3 separate regions of the Homo sapiens genome follow, and regions 2 and 3 are each linked to region 1. Evidence: promoter capture Hi-C in 16 types of primary human blood cells and fetal thymus (Javierre and others, 2016). All regions are on one chromosome and are shown on one strand. Each heading gives the region's core, a stretch centred on a gene start or on the middle of the fragment in contact. The rest is flanking DNA. Distances are from core to core; before and after follow the strand shown. Region 1 holds the start of WWTR1 (WW domain containing transcription regulator 1). Region 2 overlaps COMMD2 (COMM domain containing 2). Region 3 overlaps WWTR1 (WW domain containing transcription regulator 1).

What was found. The method cuts DNA at HindIII sites, captures the fragments that hold promoters and counts their contacts. A CHiCAGO score of 5 or more calls a contact.
Region 2: a fragment that was not itself captured here is called in contact with the fragment with the promoter of WWTR1 in region 1 in 1 of 17 cell types (endothelial precursors); the score reaches 7.2 in endothelial precursors.
Region 3: a fragment that was not itself captured here is called in contact with the fragment with the promoter of WWTR1 in region 1 in 1 of 17 cell types (endothelial precursors); the score reaches 5.7 in endothelial precursors.

Annotation. Positions count from the first base shown.
Region 1 is chr3:149,655,926-149,659,655 of GRCh38, reverse strand. WWTR1 (WW domain containing transcription regulator 1) reads left to right here and starts at 1,631. Exons shown (of 7, transcript NM_015472.6): 1 at 1,631-1,891; 2 at 2,347-2,780. The coding sequence starts at 2,350. It overlaps WWTR1-AS1 (WWTR1 antisense RNA 1), which reads right to left and starts at 1,446. Exons shown (of 3, transcript NR_040250.1): 1 at 948-1,446; 2 at 1-278. RefSeq lists enhancers at 778-987, 1,548-1,617, 1,225-1,804 and a silencer at 1,158-1,317. The HindIII fragment of the contact is 3,935 bases long and covers 1-3,186 here.
Region 2 is chr3:149,736,714-149,740,443 of GRCh38, reverse strand. It overlaps COMMD2 (COMM domain containing 2), which reads left to right. Exons shown (of 5, transcript NM_016094.4): 5 at 1-1,972. Among named protein-coding and RNA genes, the nearest start is that of COMMD2, 14 kb to the left of the region's middle. The HindIII fragment of the contact is 1,295 bases long and covers 1,520-2,814 here.
Region 3 is chr3:149,588,250-149,591,979 of GRCh38, reverse strand. All of the region lies in intron 2 of WWTR1 (WW domain containing transcription regulator 1), which reads left to right. Among named protein-coding and RNA genes, the nearest start is that of WWTR1-IT1, 62 kb to the left of the region's middle. The HindIII fragment of the contact is 4,706 bases long and covers 1-3,730 here.

The DNA of each region.
Region 1 (3,730 bases), core at 382-2,881:
CCCTGTAAAAATATTAAGGCAGGCTGGGCGCGGTGGCTCATGCCTGTAATCCCAGCACTTTGGGAGCCTGAGGCGGGCGGATCACCTGAAGTCAGGATTTGAGACCAGCCTGGCCAACATGGTGAAACCCCATTTTTGCTTTTAAAAAATACAAAAATTAGCTGGGCGTGGTGGCAGGCGTCTTAATCCTAGCTACTTGGGAGGCAGAGGCAGGAGAATCGTTTGAACCCGGGAGGCGGAGGTTGCAGTGAGCTGAGATGGAGCTATTGCACTCAAGCCTGGGGGACAAGAGGGAGACGTCACTCAAAAAAAAAAAAAAAAAAATTAAGGCACAATACGTGAACTTGAAGAACATACAGTTCTCTTTTATTTAACAAACACTTACGTAACCAGCCCGGTGCTGTGCGAAGTGCTTTACATTGTCTCGTTTGATTTACTTAATAAACTCCTATTTGAATCAAATGGGGTGGAGTAGGGGCTTCCTGGAATTTGGCTTACCTCGCCATCTCCCCCCACCCTTTCCCCTCAGTGGAGAGGCAACCAGAGAGAAAAGAAATTGAGCTGCTCTGAAGGGCAAGGCCTCCTCCTACTTCCCGCAGCTGTTTCGCCAGACTTGACCTTCTTCCCTTAGCTAGAGGCAGGGGGTCTCCATCCCTCGCCCAGATCTAGTTGGTGGGAAGGTGGGTGGCTTTTTTCGGGTCACTGGCGCACCCTCTCTACTTCCAGCCACCTGCTCGGGTTCCATCCCGGCTCCAGGCTCCCCGGAGGGCGGCAGGGACATTCCAATCCTCCCACAACCCTCACGGATGTTGCGGGGGAGGGGGGTGCAATTGCTCTTCTCTTCCAACACCCAGCTTTTTCTTCTCAATCTCTAGTGGCCTGAGTCACCCCCGTAGAGGAAATTAAGGATTGATGAATGGTTTGAAAGTTGTTTGTTTACAACCCACCCGTTGGCGAAGCCGCATCTCCAGTGACAGAGGCACTTTCTGGGCACCGTCTGTGCTCTAGCAGACAATTGAGAGCCAGGCAGCCAAGATGCCTCCTCGCCAGACCAAATATGGTCACAAGAGCTAAGCAGCCTCTCGTGGAAAAGCTGGCCTTGTTGGTGTCTCCCCGCGCCGGGGCGCACCCGGGCCGGCCTTCGGGCAGAATCGCGGGTCAGTGCGGCGCTCCGGGTGCTGCAGGCCTCGGCGCCTGGCTGCAGGGGAGGGCGCGGTGTCCAGGACCGGCCCTTCCTAGGCCTGAGCCCCTCATCCGCGTGCCCTCCGCCACCCCCGGCCTTGGTTTCGGTCCACAACCCCTTGATGAAACAGGCTCAGGCCACTTTCCCTTTGATCCCGCCCCAAGTCCGTGGTAAACTCAAAGGAATGCAGATGCAGGTCTGAGCGGGAGAGGTCCGCGCGGCCGGGAGGAGTGGGTGGGGGGCACCCGTCTCCTCTTACCCAGTAAAGTACCCATCACGCCCAGGGTTTTCTGGAGCCGAGGTGGGAGGAGGAGGAGGAGGAAGAGGAGGGGCGAGCGGGGGCTGGCCGGCTAGGGACTAGGAGGTCATACATAATTCAACAGCTCAACTTTCGGGCCCGCCTCTTTCCTGGGGGTGGGAGTTTGCTCCAAACTTTGTTTATGGGACAGTCCGGGAGCTGCTGCGGCCGCGCTGTCTGCTTCTCCTGCGCCTCCTTTTCGCCCAGCACTAGCGCCTTAGGCCAGCTCGGGGGATGTGAGAGCCGAAGCCCTTAGACTGCCAGGCACAGAGTCGGGTCGGGATTTGTCAGCCAAGCCTCGGCTCCAGCTCCGCAATCTCGGGACTCACCCGAGCGACCCAGGCCCGACGGCAAGTTCGGGCGGGACGGCGGCCGCCGCGCGCTCAGGCTCAGCTTCGCTGCCCGCCCAGGTAGTGCCCGCTGGAGCTCGCGCGCTCATCCGGCACCACTCCAGGGCTCCAGGCTCCTCGGGCTTCCGGAGTCGAGACGTGGTGGAGTTGGCTCGGGCTGAACTTCTTTCGGGGGGCTGCCTGTCCTGGAATCGTGCGACCTTTCCTTTGCCATCCTGCGGTTCAGCAAGCCCCGAGTGCAGTTATTCCCTCCACCCCTCGCCCTATCTTCTCCTCCTCCAGGCAACTTCTTTGCTTCAAGAAAGTTGCATAATTCTCGAGGCCAGGAGGGACCCCTCCCCCATCCTGCTGGTCTTACCGCTGAGTGTCTGGGATCTCCAGGCGGGCAATTATCTGTCTCCTCGTTTCCTTTTCCCTCTATTCTTTCTCCCACCATCTCGCCCTCTCACCCTGTAACCCTCTTACCCACTTCCTCCGACTTTAAATAAAAGGCTGATCTGACCTTCTTTTTGCAGAAGATGAATCCGGCCTCGGCGCCCCCTCCGCTCCCGCCGCCTGGGCAGCAAGTGATCCACGTCACGCAGGACCTAGACACAGACCTCGAAGCCCTCTTCAACTCTGTCATGAATCCGAAGCCTAGCTCGTGGCGGAAGAAGATCCTGCCGGAGTCTTTCTTTAAGGAGCCTGATTCGGGCTCGCACTCGCGCCAGTCCAGCACCGACTCGTCGGGCGGCCACCCGGGGCCTCGACTGGCTGGGGGTGCCCAGCATGTCCGCTCGCACTCGTCGCCCGCGTCCCTGCAGCTGGGCACCGGCGCGGGTGCTGCGGGTAGCCCCGCGCAGCAGCACGCGCACCTCCGCCAGCAGTCCTACGACGTGACCGACGAGCTGCCACTGCCCCCGGGCTGGGAGATGACCTTCACGGCCACTGGCCAGAGGTACTTCCTCAAGTAAGTCAGCCTGGAGCCGAAGAAGGCACCAAGTCACAGTGCCCAACGCGCGCGTGTGTTCGTGTGTGTGTGTGTGTGTGTGTGAGAGAGAGAGAGAGAGAGAGAGAGAGAAAGAGAGAGATGGTGCGTGTCCTTCCACGGTTATTTCACAGATATGGAGAGCTGGAAGCAGGGAGTGAGTCTCTGAGTGTTGGAATTGTAAGGGATCAGAAGCAGGGATCAGAAGCAGTGGTGAAGTTCATCCACCATAAAACACACAGGTGACTTTGCCTTGAATCTGCAGGACTGAAGCCAACTCTTGGGCACAGACCCTTAGTCCCTTCCTTGGCCACTCTAAGTCAGATAGTCCAGAGCCAGGCCCTTTGGGATGTGACACCGAGATAAATCAGAGAAAAGCTGTGAAGCTTGGGGAACAGAGGGACTTTTGGTGAAGTAGGTGGTCTGCAGTTTCTATCTTCTTGGGAAAAGCAAGCTGGAAAAGTGAACAGTGGTTGGTAGGCCATAGTGCTCCCAGCTGGGTGACATAATGACCACACAGCACAGTGATGTTATTAGCAACTGTGTGGTGGAGTAGTTGTGGGCTGGACAAATCAATCGTGTGGAAATTGTTAGGAGTTTTATTACATTAAACTTGTTAACCTAAAATACCATCAAATCACAAGCCTGCTTTGTCACTCTTCTTCCTTTCACATTGTTCCAGCTTTTTGATGTCATGAATTTTACATTAGTTGAAATTTTCAAATTACACCCCACAGGAAAATATATTCTCAAACACTAGAGGAGGTTGTTTCAATTGTGGTACCCTAAGATAACTACATTCCTCAGGAGAAACCAGGCTGGAACTTGAAATGTTCCATTGAGGTCATAGGGTCAGGCTATCAAAGATGGAGGTTGTGCCAGCCTAACCACTTGTTTCAGGATTGCCTGCACTGCCAGTGAGGGAAACTCCT
Region 2 (3,730 bases), core at 918-3,417, 80 kb before region 1:
ACAAATAATGGATGCAGAGAAATATAATCAATTCTTGATTGTCCTGGATACAAATTATAGTCACTTTTTATAATTTGAATAAACTATGATGAGGGAAGGAAGGCCATGTTTATTACATTATAGGCAACTATCCCTTCTCAAAACATAACTTGATTTATGTTTTGTTTTATTTTTTAGTAGGGAACCAAAAGCTTTTGGTCTGAAAAACTCAGGTGCTGATTTGTCAGGTCAGCCTGAGAGAGTGCAGAGATACTGAGGTCAGCTTAGGGAGAAGAATTGTATGGAAGGGTGGAAATGAGGGTTCAGTCTTAACTATGTGTCCAAGACCTTATCCTGAGAGTCTTCATGGAATAATCTAGAAAGGGCTGTAGAAGCAATCAAACTCTAAACTGCGCTCTAGACTTTGTCAATACTTTGCTTCGTAAGAATTAGGGATTTTCATATCAGAGTGATACCATGTTGCAATCTCTTTAGAGAAGAGAGAGCCTAGCAGGGAATAGGCTAGTGGAAGAAAAACATACTTGAGATGGTTACCCATTGGTCCCTGCAGGCATCTGGGCCACCCTTTTCCTGTAGGTATATATTCTGCCGTTGTGAAACAACTATATTATTAGATGTCAGCAAACTATAATCAGAAATAATTTTTAATTATAGTGGCAACTTGATTAATGAAGCTCTCATATACAACCTCACAAACAAAAAGAAACTTTATTACGTGAAATAGTAGCATATGTCATTGGGTTTAAAAGCAACATGCCTGCAAAACATATGATAAAAAATACCTCTGTAAGGGTTTTTATTTGTCCACCTTCGATGGAAGGTAAACATGGCTGATCCCAGCCAAGATGAAACAATAGCCCTTTGTCTCCTCAGAACAACCTATCTCCAACTCTTTGTCCACTGTTCTTACCCCAATTAAAACAAGAAAGCATGTGCTAATCCTTTTTTAATTTTTATCAACCTGCCTTGGCCTCCTTTCACTGTACTCCATTATTCCTTCTGTGATGTTCTACCTTCTTCACCTTTTGAGACCAGGGTGAGTTGGGAGCAGTTTGCCTACCTTCTTTTAGAATCTGGGGCTTATCTTTTAGTACAAGCCATTGAATAAGCCTCTTCCTTTTTTTTGCTCAAACATTCCACATCCTTGTGGATTCCCCTGCATTGTTTGTTTTATATAACATTTGATATTTGTTGTAGCTTGTATATGAACATAATTTTCTTTAGAGGTAGTCACTGTTCTCTCCAGTATGACCCAGGTTTCTTGACTCTGAGTAATGCACCTTCTATAACTATCTAAATTTCTATTGAAGCTTTTTGGATTATGAGTATGCTGACTTTTCACGATTGGCTGGTGCATGTTTAGACTTAAATGTCATATCCTTCATGTCTCAAAGCCAAAATAGTAACATCTCATCTCAGAACAGAGCTGTGACCACATGCCAATATATGTGTCACAAAGTCTACATATGTTACATTCCTTGGAAGTCTCCTTAAATGTTTCACAAAATGTCAACAAGCTTGTTTTGTTATTGATATTTCCGAGATTGGGCACATTTAAGACAGTAAACGGGAAAGGTGGTGAAGATGCTATAAGAAGATGCTGTATCTTGAGAATTGAAAAATGAGAATCTGACATGGTTTGAAAAATCATGAAGGGTATATATAAAGGATGCATGTGTAGGAGCCATTAAAATTCATAACAGTATGTGCCCCTTCAGCGTTTTAATCTTATGAAGTGGTTAAGAGATAAGTCTTCGGAGTTGGACAAAAGGATTTGAATTTAGGTTCTGTGGATTATTATGGGTCCTTGATAAATTCTCAAAGCCTTTTTTTTTGTTCATCTCTAAAATAGGAATATAGGATTACCTACCACATTGACTCGTAAGGACTATATGAGACCATGTATATAGAATGTTTAACATAGTACCAGGCTTTACAAAGAACTCAATAAATGTTTACCATTATTGAAATAGTTTTGTAGACTGAGGATCTCATTATTTTACAGCCTTGAATTATGTCCTGTATACTCTGTTAAAGAAACTGGGAAAAAAATGCCAACTGGTTGTTTCTGGGTGGCGGAATTATGGCTGTTTCTTTTCTTTTTTAATTTCTATAGTAAGTTTGAATAACTTTCATAACATTTAGGAAAAAATATTAAAGGAAAGAAAAAAGATCAGGGAATTTAAATATATTTTTAGTAGATATTTTTATCCAAACTTAATTCTTAGAATGATAAACACATAGTTTACCAGAAAACTCAGCTGTTCAAAACTACTCAGTCCCCAAAGGACTCAGGTAAACAGGCTGAGGGTTTTATATATAGAGCGCTCTAGAGTTTCCTTTTTCTGTCATTTTTTTCTCCATGTTAGTGAAAAAAACATGGGAATCTTAAGACATTAAGCCGTTTCTCCTTTTCTAGGTAATATTACTTCTAAATGGAGAATTGTTTGTGTTGTTTTTCATCTCAAATGGAAACAGTATTTCTTTGAAGTTTTTCACATCCCTTATGATCAGGAAGTTCTGTCAGCTGCTATATTAAAGTCCTCCTGCTATAACTTACTCAGTCTTCTCTGTACTTATATGAATTTGATTAAGTATCTTCTTTTCCAGAGTTTCCATAATCATAGATTACTCTCACATCTTTCTTCCACCAACAGTAGAAAATATTTTGGTGGAAATGTTATGATACTACATTGCCTCTAACTTAAATATGTTCACTTTTAAAACCATCATGACTGTTATATTCAAACTCAAATACTTTTCTTAGAACAAATGAACCTAACTCCACCATTAACGTGGTTAGTTCAGTAAGCTTTATACATTTTGAAAGTAATGTTTGAATTATAAAAGCAGAATAAGCCCATTATTTTTCAGCTTTCAAAAAATTATATAAAGATGAGAAAAAATACTATATGGCACTAAAATGTGTATTTAATGATTTGATCACAGAGTAGTAATGGCTCTTTGTTCTAGATTTTTACAGCTCCTCTCTACCCAGGAACTCCATCTATAACTTAAGTATGCACAACAGCCATGAGTCCAAAAGTTTTGACATACCATAATGGGCGAATATAGAAAAAGTAATTTCATATCCTTAGTGGGTTAAAAGGCAGTATCAATAATACAAATATCTATGTTAATGTGCTCTAAAACTGGGCTTTTACTTGAGTTGTTGCCATTCTAAACCCAAGCAACTTTTGAATAAGATGAACTTTTTATAATTATAATGTAAATTATGTTTGTTATCATTAGAAATATTACCAATTATATGACCACCAGAGTGAGAGACTGTGTTTTTTTATTGTGCTTGAGCCTAAGTTGACATTTTTTAGTTGCAAAGACTACACTTTTCATTTTCTTCTCTTGCAGTTATCATATCCTCTGTTGCAGAAGAGTCTGCCCAGCAGCCAAAAAGGGAAATAACACAAAAAAGATTTGTGCCTTATCTCACCAACCATATGAGGCCTTTTAACTTTTAAAATTTTTTTTACTCTGCTCTGTTACACTAAGCTATAAACTACCCACTTATGCATGGCATTATATTGATAACAAAGCACATTTTGAAATCTTTTCTGGCTTTTTTACATGGTACAGATTCAGTTTTGTTAATAGTAGGTACTTAGAGTGACCCATATTGTGTGTTGAACAAAGGATAAAGTTCTAGTCTCAGAATTTAGAATGCTCTTAGGCTGTTCCATCCTCTAAAATAGTTTAATCCATAAGCTCATTA
Region 3 (3,730 bases), core at 371-2,870, 68 kb after region 1:
ACCAGATGCAGTTGGCAGAATCAGAAGTGTCTCTCCCTTTGCTGAATTCACAATGACTTTGTATTCACTAATTCTTTCTCCTACCCCCTCCCGCAATGTTTCTCACATTTGGCAACATATGATAACATTTGTACATTTTCCCGCACTTTTGTATTAATATATTTATTACGGGTCTGAGTATTTAAACATGAACTTTTTTCTCAAGTCATTTAAAATGACTACAATTCCTAACCCAGAATGAAATGTTTCTTCTAATATAACTATTTTTAATTTCAGAATACATTGCAAAAATGTTTTTTGTGTAAATGTTTTAAAACATAAGATATTATCATGAAAAGGTAATTTCTTAGAAAAATTGGAATTTATCTCTACTACTTTTTTTTGTTTAGAGAAAATTTAGGAAAAGTGAATGTACATCTTGAATTTTAGTTAAGTAATTACAGTTATATAGTCAATTATAAAGGCTGGTTACATAGCTTATTATAGACTGAACACATTTTATACAACAGCCCTATTTGAATATTTTCCCTAGTTATTAAAATAATGAAAACATTAATAAAAACTAAAGGCAATATGATATTAAAAGCATTAATAAAAATGGAAGGCAAGTTAGGCTAAAGTTACTATCAGAGACTGGCTTCTGAAGGAACAGGTTTTGGCTTTCCAAGTGGCAGGGCCTTAAGAATCACATCCCCAGCTCTGGCTTAGGGTTCCAGCATTGCTCATGGCATATTCAGCTGTTGCCTTGCATCTCCAAATCTATCTTCAGAGTCCTTTTACCTCTTCCTTTTAGGTCATAGTGGAGAGTTGGCGTTCCGCTTTGTATTTATGTTTTTTTAAGTAGTATTTGTATTTCTTTCTTTCCTTTCTCCCTAACAACTACAGGATCACATGGACCTAATTTGTTTTATTGTCACAAGAGTCCCTTTTCTTGACAGGATATGCCTAATTAAAACCAGGGTGTTAAAAAAAAAAAAAAAGCTAAGTTTTGCAGGCAAGTTGACATACTGTGTGACTCAAGGGTTTCAGGAGGGACAAGGAGGGATGGTGGTGTGTTATTGAAGCAAGAGGAGGACCAAGCCTGCAGGAGATATTGTTCCAGGACAAAGTCAGGCTATCAGCAGTGCTGACGGTCCACCTCCCCTTTTCCTTCCTTCCTAATGGCCCAAGTTATGCACGTCAGCCTCTTTGGGTTCACAAGGCAGTATTGTATCATGGAAAAAGCCCTAGACCTTATTATGAGAACAAGATTTGACTCTGCTCTGCCACATGGAAACTAAGAACTTATTAAGTAGGTTTACTTCACCCAACTCTGTTTCTGTATCTTTTTTTTGAGACGGAGTCTCCCTCTTGTCACCCAGGCTGGAGTGCAATGGCATGATCTCGGCTCGCTGCAACCTCCACCTCCCGGGTTCAAGCGATTCTCCTGCCTCAGCCTCTCGAGTAGCTGGGATTACACCCGCCACCATGCCTGGTGAATTTTTGTATTTTTAGTAGAGATGGGGTTTCACCACGTTGGCCAGGCTTGTCTGAAACTCCTGACCTCAGGTGACCCGCCTGCCTCGGCCTCCCAAAGTGCTGGGATTACAGGTGTAAGCCACCGCACCCGGCCCATTTTTATTTCTTAAAAACAGAGATTAGTAAGCCTGTTATGTAATGATCAAGTTAAGATCATTTTTGAAGCCATAAAATGGTATATAAATGTCAACTATTATTATCAGACATTAACAGCATGGTTATTGTGAATATTATGACTAATAATTAATATGAATAATTATTATTGTAACTATCATTATTACCATGATTGTCATTATTAGGAATATAAGTAGCAATTCATTCAACATACATTTATTATTTAGTGTCTATTGTATGCTAGATATGGTGGACTTTCAGGACCCATGGTGTATAGTACCTGGTAGAGGCTCAGCCGAGCAGTTTGCAGAATCAACAGGAATGAATTGAGAATGACTTAATTTGTTTAATAGAATGTGACAGCATTCTCTAGAATTTGTTCCTTTCTGGGGCAAGTAAGGAACAAATCTTCCTAGATTAGTTTTATGAGTACTTACAGATAAAAACATATATGATGTGAATAAGATTCAACTGTTATATTTGATACCTAGAAGCAAAATGATTTGTCGAAGTAAACCCATTAAATATGTTCATTCATTCATTCATTCATTCCTTTAATTCAGTCACTTATTCTATGAGTAGTTTTTTAATGTCTGCTGTGTGTAAGGCCTTCTGCATTTAGTCCATAGTTGGGGCTACTGAGAAGTTGAAAGCTGCTTTAAAGTCTCCTTTCATTTTAACACCATTAAAAAAAAAAAAAACTCATGGAAAGGAAAAATCTAAATGTATCCTGTAAAGAAAATACCATTTCCTCTGGTAATTATGATGGTCTATATCCTGTTTAACTCATTGCACGGGGTTCCTCTCCAAGTCAATGAGGATTGCGTAAAGAGTCTGAAGGCAGGATGTGCCTCATAGTGGGATGAGAAGGAGCCTTGTGGCTGGTCGTCAGACTAAATTTAAACCATTATTTGTTGTGAATATATGATTAACGTGGGGGTTAAAAATGAAAAATACAGCTGCAAGAGTAGGTTTCTTCCTTTGATAAAAACAGAAAAAGTCAGGAGGGACAAGAAGAAAACAAACACAGTTACGTGAGGCATGCATTCTCTTTCATAAGAACAGTCAAATATATTTTAGCCTAATCTTTCTTTCTAGATACAATAAATGCCGCTCCCTTCTGGATTAGGCAGATGACAGCAATAACAGTATTGCAGCTGGGAGTCTCCCAGGCTGACAGGTGCTGGATATAAGATGCCCCAGATTGTCCTGTGAAGTACAGGACATGCTAGGCCCTGCTGGATCTGCCCAAGGAGAGGGCAGCTCCTGTGTCTGTTGACACCTCGTTTAGATTCTCCCGCTCACTCAAACAGCTGCCAGAGGCAGCCGTAAAATATTGCTTAATTATAGAACTTCCCTTGATCCTCTTTATCCCTTCCTTCTATTGCATTTTTCCCCCTTTTGTGCCTCTCTCTAGTTCAGAGCACCTTTAGGCTAAGCACTCATGGGAGTATTATGGTGGCGCCTTTTCCAACTCACAGTTAAGGCAGAGACAAGATTTTCAGTCCTGCACTATAGCTGTGGAATTATTTTCAGAGGCTGTAATGAGCAGGTATAGGTTCAAATGTGGAATGCAGCATCATTTTTTAAGCAGGAAATGGGTTCATTTTGGGGGGAGGATAGCTTTCTCATTTTTTTTCTGATTAGAAAAATAATGCTTATTGTACAAAAAGAACAAAGAAATGTAAAGATATGAATAAAGCCTACTTCCCCCTTGTTCATATGTGTTCTATTTACCAAAACGGGATTATGTTCACTCCCACAATATATTTTAGCAAATACAGATCCATGTAATTTATCATGTCTGTTCAGTCTTCCACTGTCTGACTGTACCATAATTTGTTTAACCATTCTATCATCATACACTAAAGATAGAAACAAAACCGCTGTGGACATCCTTAAGCATACATTCTGCATACTTGTATTGGTTTGGAGTCATGTTTGTGATTTACAGGGATGCGAAATGAGATCATTTATTTCTCTAACATTAAGGAAATCTGAATTAAGGAACTCAAGAGCTGGTTTGCTGGCTCCGCTGCACCTTTCTGCTTAGTTGTTCTTACTGAGTGGCTTCCATTCCTCATAATTCCAGCTGTCT